Regions from separate parts of the Homo sapiens genome. Here region 2 is linked to region 1. Evidence: promoter capture Hi-C in 16 types of primary human blood cells and fetal thymus (Javierre and others, 2016). All regions are on one chromosome and are shown on one strand. The core of a region is centred on a gene start or on the middle of the fragment in contact, and the rest is flanking DNA. Distances in the headings are between cores, read along the strand shown.

Region 1 (4,284 bases), core at 1,785-4,284:
TTCTAAAGCCACTGGGTTAGTCTGCTTCATAGTTTCCTAATTGAAATGTATGTTTGCTTTTTTTTGTTGTTAGACAGTCTCGCTCTGTCACCCAGGCTGGAGCACAGTGGCCCACAATACCACAATATCTCGGCTCACTGTAGCCTCTGCCTTCCGGGTTCAAGCAATTCTCCTGCCTCAGTCTCCTGAGTAGCTGAGATTACAGGCACACACCACCATGCCTGGCTACTGTTTTTTCTTTTTTGAGATGGAGTCTCATTCTGTCATCCAGGCTGAAGTGCAGTGGCACGATCTTGGCTCACTGAAACCTCTGCTTCCCAGGTTCAAGTGATTCTCCTGCCTCAGCCTCCCAAGTAGCTGGGATTACAGGTGCCTGCCACTGCACCCAGCTAATTTTTGTATTTTTAGTAGAGATAGGCTTTCACCATCTTGGCCAGGCTGGTCTTGAACTCCTGACATCGTGATCCACCCACTTTGGACTCCCAAAGTGCTGGGATTACAGGTGTGAGTGAGCCACTGCGCCCGGCCAATTTTTGTATTTTTAGTAGAGACGGGGTTTCACTGTGTTGGCCAGGCTGGTCTTGAACTCCTGACCTCAGGTGATCCACCCACCTCGGCCTCCCAAAATGCTGGGATTACAGGCATGAGCCACAGTGCCTGGACTATTTGCTTTTTTAAAAAAAACAAATTCCTTGATTTTCAAGACTGCTCATTCAAAATAAACTCATAAAGAATGGCTCAACAGTAAGTGCTTTCAGTAAGTTGTAGCCCTATTTGGGGGTGTGTTGTTCACCCAAGTTTTGGTGGGTGTACATGTGTTGTCATTTCGTGGGCTTCTTCTTTTCCCTGGTCCTCTCACATTTCTTCACTCCACCTTGGTCTGTCGGACCCCTGTCCTGCGATCAGAAGTTGAGGAGTGGGAGACTTACTGGATCTAGCCAGAGTTTAAACTCTTCTGTCTTCCTTACCTGGATGGATTTCCAGGTAGACTGGTTGTCATGTTTTTAAGATATAAAAGACCCTTTGGGTTTATGCATACATATCAATAGCCTCTTTGGTGTATTAGGAAAGAAGGTGAGAAATAAGCTGTATTTGCATTTATGTGTAAGGATTTGTGTAGGATTTCTTCTCTCAATCAGTAATTTCTTTCAGGCAGATGCTAGACCATGCCTTGTAAAACATGCCAAAGGTTTTGCTGCATATCTTTTAGTCAAATTTAAAAATGGAAATATTTAATGCATTTTTTTTTTGAGATGGAGTCTCACTCTGTGGCCCAGGCTGGAGTGCAGTGGCACCATCTCAGCTTACTGCAGCCTCCGCCTTCCGGGTTCAAGCAATTCTCCTGCCTCAGCCTCCTGAGTAGCTGGGACTGCAGGCGCATGCCGCCACGCCCGGCTAATTTTTTGTATTTTAGTAGAGACGGGATTTCACTGTGTTGCCCAGGCTGGTCTCGAACTCCCGAGCTCAGGCAATTTGCCGGCCTCAGCCTCCCAAAGTGCTAGGACTACAGGCATGAGCCACCTCGCCCGGCCTTTTTTTTTTTTAAACACAGGGTCTTGTTCTGTCACTCAGGCTGGAGTGCAGTGGCAGGCTCATGACTTATCATAACCTGGAACTCCTGAGCCTAAGCGATCTATCTACCTGCCTTAGCCTCCGGCATAGCTGGGACTACAGGCATGCACCACACTCCCAGCTAATTTTTAAATTTTTGTAGAGATGAGGTCTCCCTATGTTCCCCTGGAACTCCCGGTCTCAAGCAATCCTCCTGCCTCAGTCTCCCAAAGTGCTGAGATTGCCAGCATGAGCACCTGGACCTGGTCCAATAAATATTACAAATTCGAATTAGGCATTTCACTTTCATTTATATACATATCCTTTCACAGGATTATTTGATAGTTATTAATGTATATTATGATTGAGTTTTAATAGTTACTTTGGGAAAACAGAAATTACTGTTCCAGTACTTACTTGTAAGTTGTAAGTCCACACAATGCACTTAAACTTCACCTTGTTCAACAGATTCTGTAGCACATGAAACACTTGAAATATGGAAGAGTCACTTCTCTGGGCACTTTGCTCATTTCGTCTGCTATTCATTCACTGATTGGACATTTTATTGATCGACTACTATCTGCTTGGCAAGGTGCTAGAAATAAGAACACTAAGAAAAAGGTCAAGGTTCCTGTCCTCAAGGCCCTCTCTCTCAGTCCAGTGTTGTCAAGGCTTGATGAAACACACCAGTGGCAAACAAGCACGCGGGGCCTTATTTCACCGGTGTGCGGTCCTTCTTCCAGCTCTGAAATTATGTCTATCCAAACATCCTAAATCAACAAATCAGTGTTTCTAAATCATACAACCGCAGCTAACAAACTGGGAATAAGGCTTCGATTATTCTGACTTGATTTAAAACGATCACTGCCAATTCTTTGCCCTGCGAATCCTTTCTTTGACTACTAAGTTAAGCTTTACATACCTCACTTGCAAGAGGCTATGCTGGCTTTCTGGAAATCCGTAATTAAGTTCAGTGTTTGTGGAATGGAGTGTAATTAACGACCATTAATTAACAGGGTTTCGTTCGTGAGAGCCTGCCAGGCTAAGCAGCAGAAACACGAGAAACTGATAAAAAGCTTTCCTCATTTTTAAACAACAGTCGCACGGAAGTTCCCGGCGGGACAAGGGAACGTGGGTGCCCTTGCTACTCCCGTGGACGCGGGTAGATTGGGACGCTGGACCGTATCTCCCCGCCCCCGCCCCCACGCCTCCTCAGGTGCTCAGCCTGAGGCCTTCGTCCAGGAGCGCTGCCGCTGACCCAGGCTCAGGAGCTGGGGGCCCCTGCACAGACGCCCAGGTCTCGGGACAGGCGGCGACTGCACTCACGGAAGTACGCTGAGCTCTCCCCTGTAGAAGGGCGCCTCTCCTCCCCCACTTCCTCCTCCAGCTCCACAGCAGCCTCCCGGGCCGGCTCCTCCTCCTTCCAGGTCTCCTCCCAGTGCCGCCGCGGCTCTCAGGCCTGAGGTGCGGCGCTCACCCCGGCAGTCCCCAGCCTCAGACGCTGCGTGGAGCGGCGGAGCCGGAGGGAAGCAAAGGACCGTCTGCGCTGCTGTCCCCGCCCCGCGCGCTCTGCGCCCCTCGTCCCTGGCGGTCGCTCCGAAGCTCAGCCCTCTTGCCTGCCCCGGAGCTGTCCCGGGCTAGCCGAGAAGAGAGCGGCCGGCAAGTTTGGGCGCGCGCAGGCGGCGGGCCGCGGGCACTGGGCGCCTCGCTGGGGCGGGGGGAGGTGGCTACCGCTCCCGGCTTGGCGTCCCGCGCGCACTTCGGCGATGGCTTTTCCGCCGCGGCGACGGCTGCGCCTCGGTCCCCGCGGCCTCCCGCTTCTTCTCTCGGGACTCCTGCTACCTCTGTGCCGCGCCTTCAACCTAGACGTGGACAGTCCTGCCGAGTACTCTGGCCCCGAGGGAAGTTACTTCGGCTTCGCCGTGGATTTCTTCGTGCCCAGCGCGTCTTCGTAAGTGGCCGCACTTGGAACTGGAGCCGGCCCCCTCCCCCACCGCGCGCACCCACCCAGCGTTTCTCCATTGGGATTGATTTCCGAGAGATCCCGGCGTCTGTCTGTCTCACCCATCCTACCTCTCAGAGTGGTTTATATCCTGGGTGGAGGAAATATTTGGGGAAATGAACTCCCTTTGGTACCCATCACCCAGTTACACCCCGCTTCTCACCTCTTAAAATTGGTTAGGGGCAGCGGGAGAGCTTTGAAGCAGACCTGTGCTTAAAAATCGGGGAAAGTGGGAAATCAACAAAGGCTGGTCTTGCCGGACTCCCCGCCTCCTGTGCCAGTGTCGAGGATTTGGTCAATATCATCCCCGAACTTCTTTTTCTCCTCTACCAGTTAGGCTTCTTGGTAGCCTTTTTCTGCTTTACAGGCTTAACGCCCGTCCTTTTCAGTCTCCCTAAACAAGCCCTCCCCCACTCTTTCCGCCTCTGTCTGATTCTGTTTCTCCTTACTCCTTTTGCAGACATTCTGATGACTTAAAATGACCATACTGTCCTATTGAATTCATTGTGTCTTATCTCTGGGACTGTCAGACATTTGCACATTTGAGGTTGAACAGATGAATTGAATGTGTCATCTGTTCTTTTTATAGTGATTCACTATTTAGGTCATTGTTCAGAAGGAACAAGGGTGTTTGCTGAGTTTTCACTCGCTGCAGGTCATTTGAATACTGCAGTATTTAATAATTCAGTTATGTTTTCAAGTTGCCAACGTTCCGCGTTGCAAGGGCCGTC
Region 2 (4,501 bases), core at 1,829-4,328, 2.9 Mb after region 1:
AATGAGCTACTTCTAAAAATCAAAGTTAAGTAACTTTTCTACGGGATCCAAGTACATATTTTATGCTTGCCGTCCTCTGAGGGTTTGACAAAAGTTTATCGCTGTGTGTAGTGTTTGAATGTTTTTAATAGCAAAACTATTATTTTGTTAAAATTGAAATTTGTGAAGTCCATATACTAAGTTTTATAGCCAAAAAAACGTATACACAATTCATAAAAGCTTTGTTTCGGATGACTGAAAGTGAGTAAAATTAGAGAAGGGCAGTTTTATCAGATTTGGTTGAGGTGCAGGGGCAGCAGTTCTGGACTTAGGAGTCACAGTGTTTGTGTATTAACCATTGTTTTGACAGTAATTATATGTTTGACTTGTTACATTTTACTAGTCCATATTTATGATTCTCATATGCAGTAATTGTGATATAAATTTCCTAGTTTGTATAATTTTTTGACTTGGATAGATAATATGGTTTTACTCCAACATTTTTACATTCCTCTTCTCTGAGTCCATGTCTCTATTTGCAGAAATCCTAAAATTGCCACTTTCTTTAAAAATATTAAAATTCTTTGTAAACATTATAAGCAAAGTATTTTCCTATAACAACGACAACAAAATCTAGCAGAAACTTAGTATTAATAAAACTAAGTACACTGGGACAAAAGTAAGCCTATGTGTTAGTAAGGTCTTCTGGTGCTACCAAAGTATGGTCCACAGACCAGTGTCCTAAACCATTAGTTACCATTCTGTATAAGAGTACAGAATGTGAGTGTCACAAAACACTTTGACATTGCCTCAGCATCCAAGCATATTATAATTTCTATTGTATTTTATGAAAGTATTGGTCCTTGATGGATTGGAAGAAATTTTTTTAAGCAGAATATTCTTCAGTCACTTGAGAAGCACTCCCTTAATGCTCATATAAGGTAAAAGGAGTTTGGCTAATAAAACTGAGTAAGCTGAGTTCTGGCAGGAAGAGCAACAAGCTCTTGTGTGGGTGTTTTTGTTTTGTTTTGTTTGGTTTTGGTTTTTTTTTCTGGAGAGTCTCACTCTGTCTCCCAGGCTGGAGTACAGCGATGTGATTGATCTCAGCTCACTGCAACCTCAGCCTCCCAAGTAGCTAGGATTACAGGGATGTGCCACCACGCCTGGCTAATTTTTGTAGGGGTTTCGTCATGTTGGCCAGGCTGGTCTCGAACTCCTGGCCTCAAGTGATGCACCCACCTGGGCCTCCCAAAGTGCTGAGATTACAGGTGGCAGCCACTGCACCTTGGTGCTTTTCATATCTCATTCAAAACCTTACCATCTCCCTCTTCAAGACAGAAAGTTGGCTTTTTTCCTCTCTCTTTTAGTTAAAACTTGAAATGGATGGATCTGCTTCTTGCAGAAAGCTGTGAAAAGATTGTTTTGCAGAAGCAATATAAATAAATGACTCTACCTCTTTAAGGTTAACAGTGAATTAATGAATAGAAAATGCCCCTGATCAACATTTAATTATTCATTTGATATCTTGATGAATTTCTTTTTTTTAAATCAATTTTGTATTGTTTTACCCTTTTAGCTGTATTCTTGTTCCCTTGATGGCACAATTAAACTGTGGGACTATATAGATGGCATCTTAATAAAGGTATGTGGATTGATCTTTACTTTTCGTTATGTGAATAAAAAAAGGCAATGTAATTTAATGGTAGATGTACTGTTTCTATAAGGCCAAATATTTAAATAGACTTCCTAAACAAGTTACAAAATAACATCAAAAAAATTAATTTGACTATATAAAAATTTTCCACTTATAAAAGACAAGGTAAAGCTGGAAGAAGATATTTACAAAAGATATTATTCCAAATATACAAAAATCTTCCCAAAAACCAATAAGGAAAAACTAATAGCCTGGTAGAAGAAATTGGCATAAAGTAGGAATATGTAAATTCACAGAAAAGAAATACAAATAGTCAATAAATATGAAGAGATGCTTAAACTCATTAATAAAGAAATCTAAATTAAAACAAATGACACAATATTTCCCCTCATAAATTTAGCCAAATTGTAGATTGAAAAAAAATCTAGTGATAGGTAAAGTATGGAGAAACAGGCACTTTTTTACCCAATGAGAGTTAAAACTGAAAATCAATAAACACGTTTTGCTACAGCAGTCTCACCTCGGAATAATGGCCTGTACACAAAGTCCTTATAGCATTGTTTATGGTAGGAAAAAAGTTAAATATGACCTTGATGTCAGTTAAAATTATGATACATTCAGTACAATACCATTTCAGATCTATATGTAGGAAACTCGAAAGAGTATTTAACAAATATGTATTAGTTGTCTTCTGTAGGCCAGGTACTCTCCTTATGTTGGGAATACAGCAATGAGCAAAATACATAAAAACCCCTGCCTTGATGGATCTTATGTTCCACTGGAGGGAACAGACAGTAAACACTATGGTGCTCTTTATCTTTCAGACTTTCATAGTTGGATGTAAACTTCATGCCCTCTTTACTCTTGCCCAAGCTGAGGATTCTGTCTTTGTTATAGTGAATAAAGAAAAACCAGGTATGGTATAATTAACTTACTATATATGGCATTGAGTGGCTCTTTACATTTTACAGTTCCTCAAAATTTAACATTTTGGTTTTAATCTGAAGCCAACAGTTTTTAGAATGGGCATTTAAATTGCTTTTGTCATTATTGTGCTCATTTGGAGATGGTTTGTATGAATTCTGAAATATGCAGTGAGGGAGGGATTATTTTTTATGTGGTTGTAATAGTAGATTGCAGACCTCAAATTTTAAATCTGCTTTACAAAGGTGGATAGAATTTTGTCTTTCTACTGAACTTAAATCTGTTATTAAGCATCACTATCATTTATCTATCATTGAACACTTCTCACTTTCTTAAGTCAGGGTGGAAATGGCATAGAAAATTGGTTGATATTGGCCAGGCGCAGTGGCTCACGCCTGTAATCCCAGCACTATGGGAGGCCGAGGTGGGCAGATCACAAGGTCAGGAGATCTAGACCATCCTGGCTAACACGGTGAAACCCCGTCTCTACTAAACAAAATACAAAAAATTAGCCGGGTATGGTGGCAGGCACCTGTAGTCCCAGCTACTTGGGAGGCTGAGGCAGGAGAATGGCGTGAATCCAGAAGGTGGAGCTTGCAGTGAGCTGAGATGGCGCCACTGCACTCCAGCCTGGGTGAGACTCTGTCTCCAAAAAAAAAAAAAAAATTGGTTGATATTAAGAACCAATAATGTGACTAAGTTATTATTAATTACATTTTCACTGTCTTTAGAACATTGGTCCATTGAAACTGCTGTGCATCAGCATTTTAGGAATTCCTAGAATATTGTCAGTGATTAGAAATAATTGTCCCTTACCATAGAGTTTGATAAAACAGAACACTGACATGAGGACACATCTATAGAAATTTTCTGATCCCCACATTCAGGAATGCCACTGTATGCTATGGTGTCCTCCATAAAATACAGTTGTGTTCAGAATGAAGAATATGAAGCAGCTTTAAGATGATAGTGGGGCCGGGCATGATGGCTGACAACTGTAATCCCAGTGCTTTGGGAGGCCAGGGCAGGAGGATTGCTTGAGGTCAGGAGTTTGAGACCAGCCTAGGCAACATATACCATGGCCCTGTCTCTAAAAAGACAAAAAGAAAGAAAAGTAAGTTAGATGTGGTGGCTACAGTCCTAGCTACTCAGGAGGCTGAGGTGGGAGGATCACTAAACCACCTCCAAAGGACATTTCAAAAAATGTTCTGGAGATGGCAACGTTCTTAAAAATAATTAAGTCATCTTGCCAGATGACTGCTTCAAACATAGCACTCTTTTTGATATTTAAGTTCGGTTTCGTATGTTGAATACGTGGATTTCTGATAACAGTTCACATGTTTACGAAAAATTCAGGTTCCTAATCTTCCTGACAGGTGGTTGATCACTAGGTTTGGGATGTACTTTAGGAATCTGCATTTTTAATATCGTCCCAGGTGATTCTGCTCATCACTCGTATTTGGTAACAACTTCCTGTACTCACTCCATGATTCCTCACTTGGAAAAGTAGTTGCCAATAGCTGCTAGCAAAACTTTTTACCCATGATTCTAAACACTGACTACACATAAGAATCACATGAAGAACTTAATAAGATTCTGTGTGCTGGGGCCTAGTTTACTGAAAAATTTCTCAGTTGTGTCTAATATGCAAGACAGGATGGAAAACGACTGATCTAAAGTAAAGATCTTGTGTTGTAATCTAAATTCTTCTCATAATGAGATCTATTATTAATCTTCAGTACTTGGCATATAATGGGCACCCAGCATAAGAAAATCTGGATAGCTGCTACATAAAAATGTCAGTCAGGCTTGAAAAGATCCCCTGTGCTAGCTGGCTTGCTTACTGCACCACTGGCCTCTCATACTCAAATACAAAAACATATATTATACATATATGTGTACCCTTTTTGTGTTATCTATGTTCCACAGCCCAAAACCAGACTC

What was found. Contacts are between HindIII fragments. The CHiCAGO score rates a contact against its expected background, and 5 or more counts as called.
Region 2: a fragment that was not itself captured here is called in contact with the fragment with the promoter of ITGAV in region 1 in 1 of 17 cell types (non-activated CD4 T cells); the score reaches 5.9 in non-activated CD4 T cells.

Annotation. Positions count from the first base shown.
Region 1 is chr2:186,587,022-186,591,305 of GRCh38, forward strand. It overlaps ITGAV (integrin subunit alpha V), which reads left to right and starts at 3,035. Exons shown (of 30, transcript NM_002210.5): 1 at 3,035-3,502. The coding sequence starts at 3,318. LOC124906105 (a long non-coding RNA gene) reads right to left here and starts at 2,875. Exons shown (of 2, transcript XR_007087465.1): 1 at 1,969-2,875. RefSeq lists a silencer at 3,098-3,327 and an enhancer at 3,458-3,517. The HindIII fragment of the contact is 2,158 bases long and covers 2,626-4,284 here.
Region 2 is chr2:189,449,348-189,453,848 of GRCh38, forward strand. It overlaps WDR75 (WD repeat domain 75), which reads left to right. Exons shown (of 21, transcript NM_032168.3): 3 at 1,556-1,621; 4 at 2,458-2,548. Among named protein-coding and RNA genes, the nearest start is that of WDR75, 10 kb to the left of the region's middle. The HindIII fragment of the contact is 5,723 bases long and covers 218-4,501 here.